Linked DNA regions of Homo sapiens: region 1 is linked to region 2. Evidence: promoter capture Hi-C in 16 types of primary human blood cells and fetal thymus (Javierre and others, 2016). All regions are on one chromosome and are shown on one strand. Each heading gives the region's core, a stretch centred on a gene start or on the middle of the fragment in contact. The rest is flanking DNA. Distances are from core to core; before and after follow the strand shown. Region 1 overlaps FHAD1 (forkhead associated phosphopeptide binding domain 1). Region 2 holds the start of CTRC (chymotrypsin C).

What was found. Contacts are between HindIII fragments. The CHiCAGO score rates a contact against its expected background, and 5 or more counts as called.
Region 1: a fragment that was not itself captured here is called in contact with the fragment with the promoter of CTRC in region 2 in 5 of 17 cell types (activated CD4 T cells, endothelial precursors, naive CD4 T cells and 2 more); the score reaches 10.2 in activated CD4 T cells.

Annotation. Positions count from the first base shown.
Region 1 is chr1:15,305,206-15,311,917 of GRCh38, reverse strand. FHAD1 (forkhead associated phosphopeptide binding domain 1) reads right to left here. Exons shown (of 34, transcript NM_001391957.1): 7 at 3,182-3,305. Among named protein-coding and RNA genes, the nearest start is that of FHAD1-AS1, 35 kb to the left of the region's middle. RefSeq lists an enhancer at 5,849-6,712. The HindIII fragment of the contact is 1,024 bases long and covers 2,356-3,379 here.
Region 2 is chr1:15,433,405-15,439,778 of GRCh38, reverse strand. CTRC (chymotrypsin C) reads right to left here and starts at 1,336. Exons shown (of 8, transcript NM_007272.3): 1 at 1,275-1,336. The coding sequence starts at 1,314. RefSeq lists an enhancer at 5,607-6,106. The HindIII fragment of the contact is 3,491 bases long and covers 1-2,464 here.

The DNA.
Region 1 (6,712 bases), core at 1,618-4,117, 130 kb after region 2:
GACAGCAGTAGCTCCTGCAACCTCGTGAGAGACCCTGAGCCAGACTAAGTCACTCCCAAGTTCCTGAACCACAGAAACCGGGTAAGATAAACATATTTGTTGCTTTTTTGGGATAACTTATGTGACAGCAGATAGTCAATATATTATTGTATTATCACATTGAGAAAAAGTGAGAAGAAGGGTGCATAATGCAGTGGTATTGGGTTATCTCATACGGTCCTTTTCTTAGAAAAACATTCATCCTAGTTTTATTGGTGGGTATCAATCAAGAATCAATCTTTATTGCACAATCAAGGATGTGTAATAAAGAACAACATGATTCAGAATTTCATTGTAAAAATGAGCTTCGTCCGGGGACACAGTTAAGTTCCTTAGAAACAGACTGCTCTCTCTGGGGCTTGCCTGCATGCTTTGTGAGGCGGGACCAGAGTGACCTTTTCTCTAGAATGAATTTGGCTTGAGTCTCTACCAGGTGCCCTGTGTAGTGCAAGGTTGCCCCATTCTGGATGGTGGGAAAGTGAGCTACTCTCAGGCCTACGTGGGCTTCGAGATGGTTCCCTCTGCTCCTCCTGGGTGGTTCCTTCCCTGCCCACATGCACGTGCTCATCACACCTGACTCTGCTGAAGACTTGAGGCGGACCCTCTGAGATCTCCGGGGTGCTCTCCGTGCAGCCCCCTCCCGCCTGGCACGCCACCCAGCAAACTCAAGCTGTGCTGGCTTCTCCACCTCCATCTCCTCAAGTCGGGCTGACCACTGGGCTCTGTCTGGCTTCCCCTCCCTGCTGTGGTCTGGAAACTCTCTCCAGCGCAAGCCAGCCGGGGGCAATCGTAGATTTCATCTTGTTTGTTTCCACTCCCTCCCAGATCATCGTCACATGCTTCTTGGGGCCAATAGATGGAAACCATTATTTCAGACATTTTTTTCTGTTTGTTTGGTTTTTGTTTGTTTGTTTGAGTTGTTTCAGGCAGGTGAGGAAATCCGCACCTTGTTCCTCCATCTGCCTCTCTTCCTGTGGAAGATGGGGTTTGTGATGTGTTGTGATGGCTTCTGTGAGCCTGGGTCACTGTGTGGCCACAATGACCAAAGCCCCTACTGACCCATGATGGGCTCAGGGTGGAAGCAGGAGCTGAACCTGTCTATTGTGAGCCACTGAGACTTGGGGGACTGTTTGTCACTGCAGCGTAACCCGGCCCAGTGCTTCTCGAGCTTAAGTGTGCACAAGCAGCAGCCGGGAGGCTTGTGAAAATGAAGATTCTGATCGGAAGGTCAGGAGTGGGGCCTGAAATTCCCAGTTTCTCACAAGGATCCAGGTGATGCTGATGCTGCTGGTCCAGGGACCACACTTGGGGCCGTGAGAGTGTAGCCCATCCCAGGCCATACCTGAGCCCAGGTCTGTCTGACTCCTTGATTAGAGGAGTGGTGTCTGAGACAGGCTTGTAGCGTGGATGGGGTGTGATGGACAGACGCTGGGGAGGAGGGCAGGGCCCAGCGAGATCCCCCTGGGATGCCTGGTGCCCAGAGCAGCCCTGCCCATAGGGCTCACAAGTATCCAAGAACATTCCATGTTAGGGAAGAACAGAGGTAGAAGCCTGGAGTGGGGAGGGGGACTGCAGAGTGAGGCAGAGGGAAAGCCACGGCCAGGCGGCCTGGGTCCTGCGGAGACAGCGATTGTGTCTGACTCAATGCTACGCTCTGCTTTCACAGCCACGGGCATGTTTCCTGCTGTGCAGGGGGGACTTTAGGAGCAATATGCCCAATCTGGACTCATTCCCTCTCCACCACCTGCTTTTCTCTCTTCCCCCTTTCTCTGTCCATGGCCCTATCATCTGCAGGTCTCGAGACATGCCATTCTCTGCCTTAAAAACCCTAACGTGTCCCATCACACTTAGAAGAAAACCTGAACCCCTCCCATGTAATGTGGCCCTGCCTCCCCCCTGACCCCACCAGGTCCCATAGCCCCTTGTTCCCTGACTCCAGCCACACTCGCCGGCAGTTGATCCAACACCGTGGCTTGGTCCAGCCTCGGGGCCTTTGCACCTGTGCTCTCTGCCCAGCATACCGTTCCCAGGGGCCTCCCGACAGCCCCTCCCACCTCCTCAGAGATATCCCTGCCCAGGCACTAAGCCAGGGATGTCCAATCTTTTGGCTTCCCTGAGCCACACTGGAAGAAGAAGAAGGGTCTTGGGCCACGCATAAAATACACTCACGCTAATAATAACTGATGAGCTAAAAAAAAAAATCGCTAAAAAAAAAAAATCTCATAATGTTTTAGGAAAGTTGAGGAATTTGTGTCGAGCCTCATTCAAAGCTGTCCTGGGCCATATGTGGCCCGCAGGTCGTGGGCTGGACAAGCTTGCACTAAGCTATTCTCCTTCACTTCACCCCCTGAGTGCTTCCCCACCACGGTGTCCAGCTTTATTTCCTCTGGAGCACTGATCTCTCTCTGGTATGGGCTTGTTCATTTATCTTTTTACTTCTTATTGTCTGTCATCCTCTCCCAAGTGTGAGCCCCATGAGCAGAGGGGCAGAGGGATCTTGACTGCTCAGGGCTCTCTCTCCCCAGTGCCTAGAACAGTGCCTGGCATCTAGCAGCTGCTCCATAAATGTGCTGAATGAATGAATGAATGAATGAATCCAGGCTAAGAAACAGCTGTGCCTGGCAAGGGTGGGCCATGAGTTGGCTGCCCCCTTGCCCACCCAAGTTCTTGAGTATCCAGCTACCTCTCAATTAGCAAAATGCTTTCGCTCCGGCCCAAGAGCACCAGTGTGAGATGGGTAAGAGGCTGGGTGCCTTAAACTGGCAACCCCATTTTAGCCACATTCTAGTTTGCATTCACAGCAAACTGGCTCATGGGACTGCCTGAGCTGCAGCTTGTCCTGTGTGTTCCCTGGTGAGGTCCATGCTCAGCAGGCCTTTTAGCTAACAGATAACATTTGCTCAAATATTTATCAAGGGCTCACTCCAAACCAGGCCCTATGCTAGGAACTGGATGGCACATAAACCTCTGAGGGTGAACTCAGATTCATGGACAGGAACTGCCTAAAGGGCTGCTGGGAAGAACTCTGAGGCTGCAGCCAAGTTCAGTAACAAAAAGTATGTGGTTGATTGGTGATGTCTGCTGTGGCCAAGAACAACGGGTGCGGGAGTGGCAGCTCCCAGGCCCGACTCCAAGGGCTCACCTGATGTGATAGCGTTGTCTCTCTTTAAGTTCTCGCCCTCATTCTTCAGGGATGTGATTTCTGAGTTCCGCTCTGACAGGGTCTGGCACAGCACCTTGCTGTAGCCTTTCTGTAGGGCACTGATCTGTGGGAGGAGGTGGCACAGTCAGAGGGGGGCTGGCCCACGTCTGGGAGACACACAGGTACTTCTCACAAGCTTGACAGAAAGATTCAGATTGAGTTTTGGCTGGGGTGTTGGGGAAACCAAGCTTTTTAGTTTTAACCAGTGGAAGGGACAGGGGAGGGCCTGTTCCTTCAAGGACCACCACTTCCTATGTCATCAAAACATGAACCTTATCTTTGTGCCCATAAAGGGGCCCAGGCCTGGCTGCCACTGGGGACACCTGGTTTCTTAATGTGCCTTCTGATGACCTTTGGACTCTCAGCCATAAACAGATCACCTGTTGGTTCCAGGTCGCCCAGTACTGACTGGATACAGAGCAAAGTTCAAGAGAGGGAAGCATGTTATAAAATTAATTCCCTCAAATGATAACAATAGGTTATATCTCACAGAACACTCTAGAACCTACAAAGCCCACTCACAGACACTACTCCTTCAACAGAGCCTCATGGCCTCTCCACAGAAGGCTCCTGGGAATGCTCCCGTATTAGTCTGTTTTCACGCTGTGATAAAGACATACCCGAGACTGGGAAGAAAAAGAGGTTTAGGCCGGGCGCAGTGGCTCACGCCTGTAATCCCAGCACTTTGGGAGGCTGAGGCGGGTGGATCATGAGGTCAGGAGATCAAGACCATCTTGGCTAACACGGTGAAACCCTGTCTCTACTAAAAATACAAAAAATTAGCTGGGTGTGGTGGCGGGCACCTGTAGTCCCAGCTACTCGGGAGGCTGAGGCAGGAGAATGGTGTGAACCCGGGAGGCAGAGCTTGCAGTGAGCCGAGATCGTGCCACTGCACTACAACCTGGGTGACAGAGTGAGACTCCGTCTCCAAAAAAAAAAAAAGAGAAAGAGGTTTAATTGGAATTACAGTTTCACTGGCTGGGGAGGCCTCAGAATCATGGCAGCGGCAAGAGAAAATGACGAAAAAGCAAAAGTGGAAACCCCTGATAAACCCATCAGATCTTGTGAGACTTATTCCCTGTAACTAGAACAGCATGAGAAAGACCAGCCCCCATGATTCAATTACCTCTCCCTGTGTCCCTCTCACAATGTGTGGGAACTCTGGGAGATACAATTCAAGTTGAGATTTGGTGGAGACACAGCCAAACCATATCATTCTGCCCCTGGCCCCTCCAAATCTCATGTCCTCACATTTCAAAACCAACCATGCCTTCCCAATAGTCCCCCAAAGTCTTAACTCATTTCAGCATTAACCCAAAAGTCAAAGTCTCATCTGAGACAAGGCAAGTCCTTCCCGCCTATGAGCCTGTAAAATCAAAAGCAAGCTAGTTACTTCCTAGGTACAATGGGGGTACAGGTATTGGGTAAATACAGCCATTCCAAATGGGAGAAATTGGCCAAAACAAAGGGGTTACAGGGCCCATGAAAGTCTGAAATCCAGCAGGGCAGTCAAACTTTAAAGCTCCAAAATGATCTTTTGACTCCAGGTCTCACATCCAGATTACGCTGATGCAAGAGGTAGGTTCCCATGGTCTTGGGCAGCTCCATCCCTGTGGCTTTGCAGGGTACAACCTCTCTCCCAGCTGCTTTCATGGGCTGGCGTTGAGTGTCTGCGGCTTTTCCAGGAGTACGATTCAAGCCATTGGTGGATCTACCATTCTGGGGTCTGGAGGACGGGGGCCCTCTTCTCACAGCTCCACTAGGCAATGCCCCAGTAGGGACTCTGTGTGGGGGCTCTGACCCCACATTTCCCTTCCACACTGCCCTAGCAAAGGTTCTCCATGAGGGCCCCGACCCCACAGCAAACTTCTGCATGGGCATCCAGGCATTTCCACACATCTTCTGAAATCTAAGCAGAGGTTCCCAAACCTCAATTCTTGACTTCTGTGCACCTGCAGGCTCAACACCATGTGGAAGCTGCAAAAGCTTGGGGCTTCCACCCTCTGAAGCCACAGCCCAAGCTCTATGTTGGCCCCTTTTAGCCATGGTTGGAGTGGGTGGGATATAGGGCACCAAGTCCCTAGGCTGCACACAGCATGGGGACCCCGGGCCTGGCCCACAAAACCACTTTTTCCTCCTGGGCCTCTGGGCCTGTGATGGGAGGGGCTGCTGTGAAGGTCTCTGACATGTCCTGGAGACATTTTCCCCATGGCCTTGGGGATTAACATTAGTCTCCTTGGTACTTATGCAAATTTCTGCAGCTGGCTTGAATTTCTCCCCCAGAAAATGGGTTTTTCTTTTCTACTCCATCATCAGGCTGCAAATTTTCTGAATTTATGCTGTTTCCCTTTTAAAATGGAATGCTTTTAACAGCACCCAAGTCACCTTTTGAATGCTTTGCTGCTTAGAAATTTCTTCTGCTGGATACACTAAATTATCTCTCTCAAGTTCAAAGTTCCACAAATCTTTAGGGCAGGGGCAAAATGCCACCATTCTCTTTGCTAAAACATAACAAGAGTCACCTTTGCTCCAGTTCCCAACAAGTTCCTCATCTCCATCGGAGACCACCTCAGCCTGGGCCTTATTATCCATATCGCTATCAGGCTTTTTGTCAAAGCCATTCAGCAAGTCTCTAGAAAGTTCCAAACTTTCCCACATTTTCCTCTCTTCTTCTGAGCCCTCCAAACTGTTCCAACTTCTGCCTGTTACTCAGTTCCAAAGTTGCTTCCACATTTTCAGGTATCTTTTCAGCAATGCCCCACTCTATTGGTACCAATTTACTGTATTAGTCTGTTTTCACACTGCTGATAAAGCCATACCCGATACTGGGAAGAAAAAGAGATTTAATTGGACTTACAGTTCCACATGGCCGGGGAGGCCTCAGAATCATGGTGGGAGGCGAAAAGCACTTCTTACATGGCGGCGGCAAGAGAAAATGCGGAAGAAGCAAAAGCGGAAACCCCTGATAAAACCATCAGATCTCATGAGACTTATTCACTATAACGAGAACAGCACAGGAAATACTGGCCCCCATGATTCAATTACCTCCTGCTGGGTCCCTCCCACAACATGTGGGATTTCTGGGATACAATTCAAGTTGAGATTTGGTGGGGATGCAGTCAAACCACATCAGCTCCCATTTTGCAAGTGAGGAAATCAAGACTCAGAGGGGTGAGGTTGCTTGCTTGGGATTGCACGGATCAGTCGGTGGTAGAGTTACGATCCAAATCCAGGCTTTAGTTGCCTGCTTCCAGTTCTTTCCACGTGGCTCTAGGAACCAGCATTAACAGCCTGAGGCCGTGGAGCATGGTAGGGACTCAGGAGCCAGACTGCCATCTGCAAAATCCGTCTCTGTGTGAAGGTAGGGAGGACACCAATTCTGTCCCATTTTTTTATTCTGTAAGTGTGGTGACAGTCGTAATTTCAGGGTTGTTGAAAGCATTTTCATAAGTTAGTACATGTAAGAGTACA
Region 2 (6,374 bases), core at 87-2,586:
TAAGAGCAAAACTCCATCTCAAAAAACAAAACAAAACAAAACAAAACTGGCTGGCATGTGTGCGAGTGCCCGGTACACCTGTGTTCTTCTGTCTGTTTTTAGGCCCCTGCATCATGGTGTGTGTGTGAGAGAGCAGTAAATCCACTGTTATAGCTGGGAAGCTGTGTGGAGCGGTCAAGAACACGTGCTGTTCCGCGAGACAGACGTGGACTCAAATTCTGCCTCTTCCACTAACCTGCCATGTGATGTCAGGCAAGATACTAAGTCGCACGGAACCTCGATGTCCTCATCTGTAAAATGGGGCTATGAAAAGACCCTACCTCTTTTTCTTTCTTTTTCTTTTTTTTTTTTTTTTGAGACGGAGTTTCACTCTTGTTGCCCAGGCTGGAGTTTGATGGCGCGATCTCGGCTCACTGCAACCTCCTCCTGGGTTCAAGCAATTCTCCTGCCTCAGCCTTCTGAGTAGTTGGGATTACAGGTGCCCGCCACCACGCCTGGCTAATTTTTGTATTTTTAGTAGAAACGGGGTTTCATCTTGTTGGCCAGACTGGTCTCAAACTCCTGATCTCAAGTGATCCACCCACCTCGGCCTCCCAAAGTGCTGGGATTACAGGCGTGAGCCACCATGCCTGGCAATAGACCCTACCTCTTAAGGTTGTTTTGAGGATTAAATTGGCTCCTACATGTAAGGGGCCTAGCATAGCGTCTGGCACATAGTAAACACACAGGAAACAGGAGCTGCTATTATTACTGTTGTTGTTGTTAGCTGGAAGGACTCTTCATTAAGTGCTCTCCTTTGCCAAAAAAGTTAGTGAGATTTAGAGAGGTGAAATGACTTTTCCAGGTCCTGCAGAGAAGAAGTGGCATTTAAGCTAAGTCCCTGGGCTCCTAATCTGGGAAAACGCCACCAAAATGATGGAATGGAGAATCCTCAAGGGAGAGAGAATGCTGGGAAAGGCAGACCCCGATGGTCCCTGGGGTGAACCCAGGATGAGGCATCTCGTGTCCCTCCCCCTTGCGTGGTGCTTTCCACACCTCATTTCTAACTGGGGACACGTCAGATCATCTTCCCTGTTTTGCAGATGTGGAAACAGAGTTGGCAGGCAGGCTGTGGCTTGTCTGACACACAGCTGGTTGGTAGCATCTGAACCCACAGGGGACCCCAAAGTGTCTTACCTGGAGAGCAGAGGCCCCCCCACTCCCCATCCCGTCCTTGCCCTGGAGGCCAGCCCGAGCTCACAGCCTGCTAGCTGCAGCCCCACCCCACCGCTTACCACAGGCCAAGAGCGCAGCGAGGACAGTGATGCCCAACATGGTTAGGTGCTCAGGACTGGCTGACCATCGGGATGGGCTGGGGCACACTTATAGGCAGGAGCAGGTGAGTGCACCTGGTCAAGGCCAAACCGCCCCTTGGAGAGAAACCTGCTCTGATAAGGCCCTTTCCCTGACCTTGGGTGGTTACTGTTTAATTTGGGCAGGAGACAGGGCTTTCTTAGAAGTATGGATTTTCCAAATATCCTGAAACAGAAAATTCTGAGTTGCAGTGCTTTTTGGCATCCCCCACCCCACTCTGTTTGACGTGTGTGTTCATTCTCTCTCCCTACCTTATACTATTTATTTATTTATTTGGAGATGGAGTCTTGCTCTGTTGCCCAGGCTGAAATGCAGTGGCACAGTCTCAGCTCACTGCAACCTCCACCTCCCGGGCTCAAACGATTCTCGTGCCTTAGCCCCCTGTGTAGCTGGGACTACAGGCGCCTGCCACCACGCCAGGTTAATCTTTTGTATTTTATTTATTTTTTTGAGACAGGATCTTGCTCTGTCACCCAGGCTGGAGTCTCAGCTCACTACAACCTCCGCCTCCCGAGTTCAAGCGATTCTCCTGTCTCAGCCTCCCAAGTAGCTGGGACTACAGATGTGTGCCACCATTTTTTTTTTTTTTTTTTTTTTGTATTTTAGTAGAGACAGGGTTTCACCCTGTTGCCTAGGGTGGTCTTGAACTCCTGAGCTTAGGCAATCTGCCTACCTCAGCCTCCCAAAGTGCTAGGATTACAGGTGTGATTACAGGCCGTTACCTTATTCTTTTTAGTTATTTATTGGGCACCTACTGTGTGTCAGGCATTGCGCTCAATTCTTCTTGCATTATCTCACTTAATTCTTCCAACAACATGAAATAGACGCGGTTATCTGCTCTGAGGTGAGATGAGAAAGGACCAGGCGCAGTGGTGCATGCCTGTAGTCCCAGCTACTCCTGAGGCCAAGGTAGGAGGATCGCTTGAGCCCAGGAGTTCGAGGCTGCAGTGAGCCGTGATCGTGCCACACTGCATTCCAGCGCGGGTGACAGAACAAGACCTTGTCTCTAAAAAAATAAAATAAAAGTGAGGAAGCTGAGACTCAGCGGGTAAGTGACCATCTAGGGTCACACGGCTGGGCAGCAGCAGAGCCAGACTTTGAAGCCAAAGCTTCTAACACCAGCCTGGGGCTTCAAGCTGTGGAGACATGCTGCTCCTTCTCTGCCTTTCTAGTGCTATTGGATCGCTTCCTGGCTCTCTCTCTGTCTCATCTTTCTAATTGCCTGGGCTTGATGCACTCCTGCACCTGCCTCCAGGGCTGTGGTTGGAGGCAGGGATGCAGCAGGCTCTGGAAGGTGCTTAGTTGGCCAGATTCCTTCCTGGAGTCAGCTTAGTTGTAGGTCCTCAGTTTCCCCATCTCTAAAATGGGCAAAAGGACCAGATGGACTTTCAGGCTCCTTTCAGTTCTACAATTCTGTAACTTGAATGTCAAGGTCAGTGGCAGATCTGAGGGCCCAAAGCACTGAGTAGCAGAAATTCTACCAGAGCCTCCGGCATTCGGGGTTGGCCATCCCTTGGAACATGTGGTTTGATCCATTCGCCCCAAGGCCTGGCCTCAGCCTGGTTGGTTAGATTCTGTCTTTCGTTTCCCCTCTACTCATACTGAGCTCCCCTTGAAGGTCATTTTCTGAGCTGGGCCTACTGGCCACCTTAGGAATTCCTTCCTGATAGAAAAGTTCAGAGCACTACGCACCCCGCCATTCATAGCGGTGATCTGGGGGTGAAGGAGGATTCTAACTTACACTTTTTTTTTTTGAGAGTCTTGCTCTGTGGCCCAGGCTGGAGTGCAGTGGTGCGATCTCAGCTCACTGCAACCTCCACCCCTGGGTTCAAGCAATTCTGCTTCCTCAGCCTCGCGAGTAGCTGGGATTATAGATGTCCACCACCATGCCCGGCTAATTTTTGTATTTTTAGTGGAGACCGGATTTCACCATGTTGGCCAGGCTGGTTTGTTTATTTATTTATTTATTTTTTGAGATGGAGTTGGAGTCTCGCTCTGTCGCCCAGGCTGGAGTGCAGTGGTGCGATCTTGGCTCACTGCAACCTCTGCCTCCCAGGTTCAAGCAATTCTCCTACCTTACTTAGTCTCCTGAGTAGCCGGGACCAGTGCCACTGGCTAATTTTTGTTCCTTTTGTAGAGACGGGGTTTCACCACGTTGGCCAGGCTGGTCTCGAACTCCTGACCTCAAGTGATCCACTCACATAGGCCTCCCAAAGTGCTAGGATTACAGGTGTGAGCCACCATGCCTGGCCTCTAACTACACATTTTTATGCAGCTTAAATTCTTTTTTAAAACAAACATAGTTACCTTGGTAGTATAAAAATCAATAGGTTTAATTTTTTAAGAAAGATAAAAGTGGGAATGTGCACTGGGGGCTCTGCTCAGCTATGGTGACATCAAGGCCTCAGTCCTGGGGTGTCTGGGGACTTCAGCCTGCGGGGAATTTTCTGTTTCATTTTGGAGGTTGGTTGTGCATGATACAGGTTTATCAGTGGCTACTGGCCAGTCTGCTTCAGACCCAGGGCTTTTGGTTGCCAAGCCTTGCAAAGGGTCATTCTAGCCTGGAAACTGGGAACATAAGCAGAGATATGGCTTGAGCTAGGTGATAGGTCTTGGAAATTAGCAGGGTCTGAAGCGGGGAGACAGGACACCTGGTTTCCATCTCAGTGACAGAATGGATGACCCAGACCCTGAGCAACCTCTTTGAGCCTCAGTTTCTCTCATGTCCCTTGATCAACTTGGGAAAATGAATTAACTGGGCGTCTCCTTGTAGGAGCTCATCAATTTATACTCAGAGATACAGCAACTTGTTAGCACGCATCTCAGCTGTGTATACATGCCCATGGATTCACAAGTATACGTGGACAGGCGACGCACACACGCACATACACACACACGCACACACACATGCACACACACATGCACACACATGCACACATGCACACACGCACACAAACACATGGACACACACGCACACACACATGCACACAATGCACACACCCACGCGCACACATGCACACACAAACATACACACACATATGCACACATGCACACACGCACACACACACATGCACACACACGCTCCTCCACGTCCACAAATATGCACACACCAATGATATAATACATATAAAGCATTCGGTTATGTGTAGAGCCAAGCAGAGCCATGGGCCACCCATTCAAACATGTACACAAACATAGAAATAGCCAAATGGATTGATGATGAGGTCCCAGGTGAAGAGAGTTATTGTCAGCTCTTTGAAGGTTCACAGAGAAACTGACCTTTTTGGAGGGAGGTTGCTGGCTGCTCAGCTATAGGGAAACTTGCTTGTTTTGAGACATCTACAGGGAGGGACCTTTTATGTAAGGCAGCACCAAACAATTGTCCCTGGAGAAAACCGAGGTCGCCCTTAATCTGTTTCAGATGCTGAAGACAGGATGTTGAGTGCTTTGCTTAGGGTTGAACTAAACCCACCACTATTGCTTCATAGCTCTATGGCCTTATGCTTGTGACGCAACCTCTCTGTGCTTCCTCGTTTATAAAGTGAGAGTGAAAACGGTACCTTTGGCCGGGCACGGTGGCTCATGCCTGTAATCCCAGCACTCTGGGAGGCTGAGGTGGGCAGATCACCTGAGGTCGGGAGTTCAAGACCAGCCTGGCCAACATGGTGAAACCCTGTCTGTACAAAAATACAAAAATTAGCCGGGCATGATGGTGGGTGCCTATAATCCCAGCTACTCGGGAGGCTGAGGCAGGAGAATTGCCTGAACCCGGGAGGCGGAGGTTGCAGTGAGCCGAGGTCGTGCCATTGCACTCCAGCCTGGGTGACTGAGCAAGACTCCGTCTCAAAAAAATAAAAAGAAAAAGAAAGAAAATGGTACCTCCCTCCTAGGGCTGTTGGAAGAAGTGCCTGGCATATGGCAAGGACGGTCTAAATGTTTGCTATTACTATTATTATTGTTGTTATCTGGTTCTTATGAGAAAGCTTGAGACTGGACTTGGTCACTGAGTACTTTTGCCTTCATGGGCCCCTTTCTCCATTTAAAAAATATTAAAAACTGGCTGGGCATGGTGGCTCGTGCCTGTAATCCCAGCTACTCAGGAGGCTGAGGTGAGAGGATCCCTTGAGGCCAAGAGTTCAAGACCAGCCTGGGCAACATGGCGAGACCCCTGACTCTAAAAGAATTTAAAAAATTACCTGGGTGTGGTGGCACATGCCTGTAGTCCCAGATACTCTAGAGGCTGAGGTGGGAGGACTACTTGAGGCCAGGAATTTGAGGCTGCAGTAAGCTATGATCATGCTACTGCATTCTAGCCTGGGTGACATAGAGAGACCCCAACTCCAAAAAATAAAACATAAAAAAATGAAAAATTATGTTTCCTTAAAAAAAATAATAAAAATTATGTTTTATTGTATGGTGATAACACTGAATATAATCCAGTTTGGATCCTTTTCATTTTTTTTCTTACTGATTTTAAAAAAATCAAAACATTTTGTGGGCCTCTAAAGGTGTCATGGGCTCCAGGCCCTGTGGCCCCTCCTTCCGTGAGGTTCTAGACGACCCAAGGGCTGAGACAGAGAGAGTTTGGGGAATGGTCTATGGCTCTCCCTGAGCACCCTCTCCAGGCCCTGGAGGTGCCTTTAGCTTTGTCCCAGGGCAGCCAGGAGAAATTTGTTCTTGCTGGAAAAGGTGGACAGGCGTAGGAGCTGCCTCTGGGCACGTGCATGGCTGGCACCAGCCCCTCCTGACTCCAGGCCTGGTGCAGGGAGCAGCCAGTCAGGCGACACCATGATCCCAGTGGCTCAAACTGCCTAAGTTATGGTGGTGACGCTGGGTTGGCTGACCTGATTTTCTGGCCTTGATCACCGAGACTGAAGAAGTACCCCAGAGGGGGCCTATGGATATCGGCTGACGGAAGCCCTGGGAGGGTGGATTTCTGCGATGGGAGGGGTCAGGGCTTGAAGTTGGATTAACTTGCATATTTATTTATTCATTGAGGCAGACTCTTACTCTGTCGTCCA